Regions from separate parts of the Homo sapiens genome. Here region 2 is linked to region 1. Evidence: promoter capture Hi-C in human tissues and cell types (Jung and others, 2019). All regions are on one chromosome and are shown on one strand. Each heading gives the region's core, a stretch centred on a gene start or on the middle of the fragment in contact. The rest is flanking DNA. Distances are from core to core; before and after follow the strand shown. Region 1 holds the start of CDH8 (cadherin 8). Region 2 overlaps CDH8 (cadherin 8).

The links. Contacts are between HindIII fragments. The study calls those that stand out against the background at their distance.
Region 2: a contact is called between a fragment that was not itself captured here and the fragment with the promoter of CDH8 in region 1, in 1 of the 25 tissues and cell types used here (neural progenitor cells).

Annotation. Positions count from the first base shown.
Region 1 is chr16:62,034,633-62,039,528 of GRCh38, forward strand. It overlaps CDH8 (cadherin 8), which reads right to left and starts at 1,806. Exons shown (of 12, transcript NM_001796.5): 1 at 1,448-1,806. It overlaps LOC124903777 (a long non-coding RNA gene), which reads left to right and starts at 1,958. Exons shown (of 2, transcript XR_007065217.1): 1 at 1,958-2,145; 2 at 2,581-2,801. RefSeq lists an enhancer at 1-108. The HindIII fragment of the contact is 11,196 bases long and covers 1-4,896 here.
Region 2 is chr16:61,995,608-62,000,085 of GRCh38, forward strand. The region is part of intron 2 of CDH8 (cadherin 8); the gene reads right to left. Among named protein-coding and RNA genes, the nearest start is that of CDH8, 39 kb to the right of the region's middle. The HindIII fragment of the contact is 5,574 bases long and covers 1-4,378 here.

The DNA.
Region 1 (4,896 bases), core at 556-3,055:
CAGGTGAAAGAAAGCAGCTGATCTGATTAGCAGCTCGGGCGCGCTAAGGGATTGTCGAATCATGCCTCCTAAGGAGGAAACTCTTGTGGAATCTTCAGGAAAGGGTGGTAAAGTTGAAAGGACCTTTCCTCCCTCCCGCTGTCTTGGTGATAAGCTCTATCGTTTAATTGGTGCTGAAGTGAGCAGCTGCCAGCCCGATTTTCCATTACGGACTAATATTGTGCGTTTGCAACAATAAACAATTAATGTGGTTTGATTTCTTACATTTAGCAACCCAAGCAAACAGCTGCCATCTCCGCTGGTGGAGGCAAACGGCTAGTCCTTGACATGCCGCCGGCTCCGTGCCTGCGGGGGAAGGGTCAACCGCAAGGAAACTTTGAGGATTCTGCCAGACTGGGTGGGGGAAGGCTCTGGTGTTTGGGAGGAATAAGCGGAGGAAATTGTGGATACCTGTTGGCATCAGCGTTGGCGGCAGCACGTTTTTTTACCGTTTCCCAGCCTTGGCTGGATCCTGGGAGAACCGGAGTAGGTCCCTTATGAACCTCTTACGTACTGGCAGAACCTAGGCAAGAGCCTTTTTCCCTCCGATCCTGCGAGGGGCGCGACCAGCCCCTCAAAGGTTCCCGGATGAGAAGCGGCCAGACCACAGAAAGCGCAGGTCTGGGCTCAGCTGTCCCTAGGAGAGCGGCTACGGAGTCCCCGGCTTAAGGGGGCCTCCGTGCACGCAATCTCGAGTTGCGGGGAGACACTGCCTGGGGGTCCTGCAGGGGTGCTGGGCAGCGTCTTGGCGAGGGCAGAGCCGCAGGGCGACTCCGGAGCCCGGCAAGTTTGTAGCGGGCACCGCACCTCCCAGAGCTGGAGCTGCCACTTGTGGGAAAGCCTCGCGCTGGGGCTTTCGCAGCTGAGCCTTGGCCCGCAGCCCTGCCGCGGGGGTCGCCCTCCCTCGCCTCGGAGATGAGGCGGTGCAGAAAACCAGCCATAGACCACTCGGGCCCCCTCGCCTCCTTTTTTCCCTGGCTTGCACCCTCCGCACAGCGGGCTGCAGGTGCTTCCCATTCACCGCACGGACCCCGCAGTGAAGGCGCGCGGCTGCAGCCGCGCCTGCCTGCGTTGGGAAGCGGCGAAATAGCCAAGTCGCCGCAGGGAAGGAAACCGGCAGGAAAACTGGAGGGGCACAGCCTGGAGCTTGCTACTCTCTAGGATCTGTTGTCAAAGCAGTTTGCAAAAACAGTCAGGCAAAACCTTGAGGCGTACGTACGTTATCACCCACGGATATCGCGAAAGACACAGCTTAGCCCAGAGCCTATGCTAAGAACCCTCATCCACCATCTGAGGGGCAGGAGGCGCGCAAGGTGTCCGAAGGGGCATGGGAATTCCTATAAGAAACGGTCCCTTCTGGATAGTCGGAACATAGAGGAAAACGGGGGTGGGTTAGGGGAACACTTACTCTTGTGGGGCCCTGCGCTGGCGAATGTCAAGCCTCCAGGTTCACAAATGGCTGGAGGTGCTCGGGGTTAGCTCCCGAGGGCGGCAAGCGCCGACCGGTCCTCGCTCGCTAGGCAGGCGCCTCCGGATTCCGTTCATGCCTCTCGGAGCTACAGGGCTTGGTGCGGAGACGCAGGGCGGGCGCGCTGGGCTCTGGGTGTCCGCAACCCAAAGTGCAGCTGGTGTCTTGACGCTACCGTCTATGCACAAGCCGGCGGCGGCGGCGGAGCTTGGAGGAGGCAGGGAGATTCCAAATAAATCCACTAATTCTGGGCTGAGCGCTCCGGCGTGCGAGCCCGCCTGCCTGCCAAATGTAACTGTGAAGTGATGTGGAAAAGTGAGCCGGGTGCCTCCCCTGACGGATCTCATTGGGCAGAGCGCAGAGGCAGGTCTACCACTTGGAAATTCATGTAAGCAGTCCCCCCTCCCCGCCCCCTCCCCGCCTTCCCCCTTCGCTCTCCCGCGCTGGCTCGATCGCTCTCTTTCCCCCTACCCAAGTGGGCGCACAACTTTTCGCTCCTCGCTCCCGAGCAAGCCCCGCGCGTCTCTGCCGCCAGAGCCACGAGGTGAAGATGCGCCCTTCCGCGCGGTGCGCGCAGCCCGCTGAGGACCGAGCTCCTGGATAAGTGGGCTGGCAGATAATAACAGCATGCGGATGAGGTACCTGCGAGCTTTCTCTCTAGAGGTCTCACCTGAGCTCTGGGGCTGGCGTTATGTTGAAAAGCGTCTCAGTGACCCGCAGCTATTTTCCGTAGGAGGAAGAGGACGCGACAGGGCAAAGGGTTGAGCGTGGGCAGCTTACCTCCTCTTTATTCCAAGGGCCTCTTGCGTACAGAATAGGGTGATTGTGAGACCCCTGCCTGCAACTCAGACGCTATGTAGAGGCTGTGTGTCGCGGTTCTGTGATGGAGCGCATTCCTGATGTCCCCGTGCTCCTTTGGGAAAATGGGATGAGGGACAGCAGAGTGGCAGCCAGGAGGGGCGCGCAGTAGTTGGTTGTGGGGAGGAGGGCAGGCAAAGCAGAACTTGCTTGGGAAATAGGGGAGGAATTTCTAGGTCTTCTCAATGTGCCCTGATCTTGTCATATCCTCTCAGATACCATCCTTGCGGTTCTCCTGCCTCCACCAAGACCTGCCCTGTCTGTGGTCACTTCAAGTCTTCTGATGGGCTGCGCTCAGATCTTGAGAAATGGCCACCCTGGGGTAAAAGGGACCATGAATCAGGAGGTCCAGATTTCTTTTCTTTTTCAACACTGGGGCTAACATGTAGACGATGCCACAGTCATCATCTTCTAATAAAATTAGATAAATATAAGACAAATAAATTCTTACCTTAAAAAAAAAAACCCTCCCCTCCACAGGAGATCCCGATTTAGTCCCTTCCCTGTGTGCACTAGACGTGAGCCTGAGGGTGGATTTTACCATCTGGGGACAGAGCAAGAACAGAAGGGGGAAAAAGGTGCAGGGGACAAGACGCACAGTCTGTAGAGCTTGTACTGTCTCACTCAAATTAATGAGAAAGAGTGAACAGAATGAGAAAATAGGCACAACATGCTTATGATATTTATGCAAATTTGACATTTTTTTGTGTGCTGCATCTGACAACCCATTGTGAAATGTGAAAAAGAGTATTGGCTGTAGCTCTAATATCTGATTGTTTCATGTTCTAGCTGTCATAGGCAAGAAACTTAGTGGATTATTTCAGAGAGGGAGAGGTGAAGAGAACCAAGTGGTATTTTTTTTCCCCCAGGCAGTCACTAAGTAACTGTTTGTTCTCTTCTCAGACTGTGTCTGCTTACAGGGTATTGGAATTGGCTAATTCTGTCTTGGAAAAAGGAGCAGCAGTCAAGGCTCAATCAAATTATAACTGCTGCTAGACCAGACAGTCCCAAGTGGACAAAGAAATAGATCACATTTTGGGTTGTGCTTAATTTCAGATATTCATTTTCACTTGAACAAATAATTTGAACCGTTCCTTGGGGTAACTTCTTACATCTATGAAAACTCAAAAAAACTCATGTGCTACTGAAAGCTGGGGATTGTCACAAGTAACAAACTTGTCTCAAAAAAAAAAAAAAAAGCCAGATTGTTAGACAATATCCTCAAATCTCATTTTCTTAACAAACTATGCTGACATAGTAAAGATAGTCAGAATCCAATGGCTTTTAAAGAGAGCCAGAATCCAATGGCTTTGGGTATCTAGGGTTAAGAAGAGTTTGCTTTGACTCATCTTGTCCATATTTACTCTTACAGCAGTTATATACATTGTCTTCCCTGAATTTTGGTCCTCTGGAATTCAGGGTAACCTGTCTATACCTGCTAATATCTGCTCAAAGCGTTACAATAGGAATTTCCTGACTAATTCTTAAGAGAGGTTTGGATGATTAAGCAGTGTGATAGAGGATTAGGATAATGTTAGAAAGCCCTATAAGGATATTTCTAAAATAATCAGGGATGCTGAAAGACAAGGCATTTATCTCTTTAACAATTCCACCCACTCTTAATAAGATGCAGTGTAATGTCACAATGGTGAAAGCCTACCCCCTTAAGAAAGTGTTTTCTTTTCAACATCCTCTCCAGGGTTACAGCCTTCCAGCGGGAAGAGGACTGTGGTACATAGGCTTTTTAGAATGGCAAGTGAAATTGCATGTGTTGTGGAGCATTGCGGGGGAGGAAGGGTGAGGAATTATCTGATAGGGCAGGAGTATAATTGGAGAAGGAGTTGGGGGGAGGGAGAGAAGATTGCATTCAGAATAACCTTGGCTGACTAATGCAAAAAGTAGAATGAGGCAGGATGTCTCTAGCCTGGGTCTCGGTGACAGGCAGGCAGTTTTGCAGGGGAGTCTACTGTAGAGAGTGAATGAGATGGAGAGGGACTCCATGTAGTAAAATACACTTTTATTTTTTCACTATGGCTGGAATGTTTGTCGTAATTTTGACCAAGGGACACAGTAAACCAAGTGCCCAGCTAGTTGCAGAGTGGGGAATCAGATGGTTCATAGGAAACAGAGCTCAAGAAGAGGGAGACAGTGTTAGGAAGTCTCCAGCTTCTCTGGTTGGAGCAGGAGATGACAGAATGGAACATAACTATTATTTGCTGCGTTAAAATGCAATCTTTCGTCGTTTTCATTCATCAAGATAGAATTAAAAATTAAAACAAACTAAAAACAAAATGTATTTACCATATTATGATTACTGGTAACCTTTAGATTTATTGGATTGCTTGTAATGTGATATCTATGGTGCCAGGTATTATCATTTAAAATAAAATCTCAAGAATATGACATATGAAAAATGACAACTCAAATTACCATGTAATATTTTTCCAGAAATGAAGGGTCCCTTTCCTGTGTTTCATTAGGATGAAGATATCTGAAACCATGCCCTTTATTTGGGGTATGGGGCAAGGGTA
Region 2 (4,478 bases), core at 342-2,841, 39 kb before region 1:
ATCTTGTGATCTGCCTGCCTTGGCCTCCCAAAGTGCTGGGATTACAGGCGTGAGCCATGGCTCCCGGCCTACTTTTACTTTTTATGTGTCTTATTCTTTACTCGGATGAATTAGAACAGAACAGATTCCATTAGGCAGACCAAGTGCCTATAATCATATGTAATAATGTTTTCTCATTACTGTATAATTAAAAGTAACATACATTTTTATTAAAAGGATGAAGGAAAAATTGCTTTCAACTTCACAAGCTTACATCTCACCTGCCCAACTCAGTAGATATAATCCATCCACTCTTGGTCTTCTGAACCACTTTCCTCCTACAAGAATGTATGAAATCTTCAGATGGCTCATACTGATCCTAATCCTATGTGAAAGTTTCCTGTGTTTTTAAATCATGCTGAAAAGATAGTCCGGTTAGGCAGCTTTAAAGACATATGTCTCCTTCGCCTCCAGACAAAGAAGAATAAACCTAATTCATCCTTGCAGATAAATTCATCAAAACTCAAGGCCAGTGGAAATGTTTACTAGTGCCTCTTCTATTTCGTAGCTTAGAATATCTGAACTAGAAGAGACCTGACAGGTCATCCAACCCAATCCCCTGAAGCACAGATTAAAAATAACAGCATCAAGGCTGAGGTTAAGTCCAGGATGAAAGAATCATGCCTTGTAATTGAGCAACACAGTCTTGACACCGTCATTGCAGGGAATGGCAAACTCTGCACATGGGGACAAATTCTGCCCTCCTCGGAGAATGAATGCAACTAAAAATTATTCCCAACCTCTAACCAGGTGAAGCAAATTCATGCTCTGGCATTTTCCCTTCTTAAAAGAGCATTAATGTACTAACTCATCACATTTAAAGGTGCTCATCAACAATAGGTTTTATTTGAGAATATATGTAATCGTATAATATTGACATTCCATAAAGCTACGGCAGCTTTCATTCTAAATTCTGAAGTTTTTGCAAAAACAGGGACCTAGATAAGATGGTCACCAAGAAAAAGACATTTTTACCTAAACCCATGGTTCAGTGGTAATTCAATTAATAAAATGATTTTCAAAACACAAATTAAATTATATTATATCAATCAGGATAGTTTATTACATCTCTGATTAGGTCTACAATTTATTTATTCATTTATATTTATTTTTTGTAGAGGTGAGGGACTTGCTACATTGCCAAAGCTGGTCTCGAACTCCCGGGCTCAAGCAATACTCCGACCTCACTCAGCCTCTCAAAGCGCTGGGATTACAGGCATGAAACACCATGCCTGGCCCAGGTCTACAATTTAAACAGTCCTGAAATATTGAGTAGTTTAGCATTTTGTTTTCTTTCATATATGAGGTTAATACACTTCAAACAAGTATTTCATGACCACAGAATATTGTGTGTATGTGTGTGTGTGTGTGTGTGTATGTGTGTGTTTAAGTATAATCCTTTTCTGAGGAGTGTTTTTTTAAAAAAGAATAATTCTTCTCCTTTATCCTAAGATTCAGATTTTCTCTAAAAAAGTCATAAAGTCATAATTTTAATGTTATTTCCAAGCCACCTTAACTTAAAGTCTCTCAGAGTCCACTTTGCTGATGTGCCAGGAATTCTCACAATATTCCGCAATCCTGCCTTATGGTACACTGTTTGAAATAAAATAAAGATGTTCTATTGAGAAAAGAACGTAATGCATATTTCTTTGAAGCCCTGCCTGTATCATTTTGCACATGCCATCGAAGAGATCCCATATACTAGTTGTTTATCTAGGCCCTTAAAGTCTATACACTGACTCTTATACTCCTATATTTTCTCTTGCTCCTACCATATTTTTATCCTTCCAGAAAAACAACTGTGAAATGATCATGGACTTCCTTACAGTAGAATGCCAGTTAATAAATATAGAAGGAATATGGAGATTTTTTAAAATCACGAATTAATGCTAAAACTATTGGATGAAAGTCTAATGAGAAATAGAATTGTCAGAAAGTATCTCCCCACAAATTACTTATTAATAACAAAAGGGAAAATAGTAGCTTTGCAGAAGAAAGCCCTGACAGACACCATCTCAACCAGGTAAGCAAAGTTAGCATCATCAATATTGAGATAAACCAACCTCACGTAACTTGTGATATGGTGCCCTTAGAAAACCGCATCACTTCTACAGGGTTTTTGTTAAAAACGCCTAACTTGTAGTACTCACAAGGGAATATCAGATGCAAAAATCTAAAAATGTTCCACAAAATAACTGGCATATAAACTCCAAAAATACAAATTTCAAGAAAGTCTGTGAAATTGTTCCAATAAAAGGAAACTAAAAAGATATGACAATTAAATGCAGTAAGTCATCTTGACCTGTACCAAGAAATACAAATATCTATAAACAGCAATTTTAGAATAACTGACAAAATTTTTATGAATTATGGATAGAATAATAGTATTGTGCCAATGCTACATTTCCAGATCATAATAATTACTCTGTGGTTAGAAAATACATTGAAGTATTTTATGGTAATGGAAAAAAATATCCCCAACTTGCTGGAAAAAGGTTTAGAAGAAAAATGCAATATGCATGAAAAGATAATTAGGAAATGATAAAATGAATGAAGCAAAATTAAACACTTGATGAATATGGTGAGATTCTTGTATTATTATTAATATATTGTTATTGTTGGAAATTTTCTGTAAATTTGAAATTATATCCCAATAAAATGTGGTCTTCTATGGTAAATAATAATTAAAGCACTTCATCAAATATCTGCAGGTGTCTTTTTCCTTATTTGACAGGTGAGTAAATGGAGATTCAAAGAGATCAGGTTATTTGCATAAAAGCACATGGCTAGTTGGTGGAAGAATTGGGTATTTTAACATAGGACTGTTTGCATCCAAGACTCTTCGATCTAGCATACTGTCTTCCACCAGGTGCCCTTGATTCAAGACACAGAGAAAGCTGATATGGACTTCAATGTATCTTTTTATTGCTTCTTCCTCTGAGATGTACCTAAGCTCTCACCTTGTAATTAAACAAGTCATGCCCACTATATGTTTGGCATTACTGAGAATGCTGAGTCACCCAACTTTAGCCCATGGATCAAAGGACCTCTGGGATGGGTAGTAGCATTGTCATCCAGAAAAAAGCTACTTGTCAACTAGAAAAGATATTCAAGTCTCTGCTTCCTCCATTCACTTTCTTGATCTTCGAAATAAAACTGAGTTGCTGATTCCAAAGATCATTTTCTCTGTAAGACTAGATATTTTATTCTAATGACTTACTGAGCCAAAAGATTTAATAAAATCAATACAGAGGGGAAAAAAAGGACTCAGATCTAAGAAATTGGAAGGATAGATATTATATGGAAGCTCAAACTAAGATACTGGGCATGACAAAGCAGATAAGATCAGTTAAGTACAAGAGTCTCATTAGCAAACATAACTAATACACAGCTTTAGAAGGATGAGAATTTAAATGATTAGTGATGCCTCTTCATTATCTGATTATAAACAATCATCAGAAGAGTAAGGATAATAAAGAGAGTAGCTTTCATCCACTAAGTGCCTACTATATGAAAGACACTGCTAGGTACTTCTCATGTATTTACTGCCTCATTTAAGCCAAAATATAAAGATTACCAAATATTTTACAGATGAAAAATCTGAGCTCAGTGATGTTGAGCTTACTTGTTTATGTTCACATGGATTTGGATCTAAAGCACAACTCCACCACTAATTTTGCTAGGGTTTCACAGCTTTTGGAGACTGGAGCTATTAAAAAGGAAGATTGAGATTTAGAGGCAGAAACTCAGAGTAAAAGGATCATGAAAATCATGGAAGTCACAGGCTACTTCCACACAGAGAGCACGAAGAATGAAACAAGGCTTTGGAGCTAGATAGATGAATGTTAGAGTTCAGCAGATACAGAACAGTCTTCGCAATGCTGGAAAATTTACCTAACCTCTTGCAGTGTATCAGTTTCTTACAATGCAGTTATAATAACATCTAACTTTTAGGTTTATTATGAAAATTAAATGAGATAATGGGTGTAAAGTGCCAGGTAGTGATTATGACTTTAAAGGACCCTGAAAAATGTCATACACATGCATATCGCTTTCCGTGTGTCTCTGATGTTTATATTGTGCTCACTGGGGCATGAAAAGACGTGAGTTAAATGTTCTTTGAAAAAAAAAATTATAATGAATTCCCCCCTTTTTTATTTTACTTTAAGTCCTGGGATACATGTGCAGAATGTGCAGGTTTGTTACATAGGTATACATACATGTACCACGGTGGTTTGCTGCACCTATCAACCCGTCATCTAGGTTTTAAGCCCCGCATGCATTAGGTATTTGTCCTAATGCTCTCCCTCCCCTTGCCCCCCGACCCCTGGCAGACCCCAGTGTGTGATGTTCCTCTCCCTGTGTCCATGTGTTCTCATTGTTCAACTCCCACTTATAAGTGAAAACATGTGGTGTTTGGTTTTCTGTTACTGTGTTAG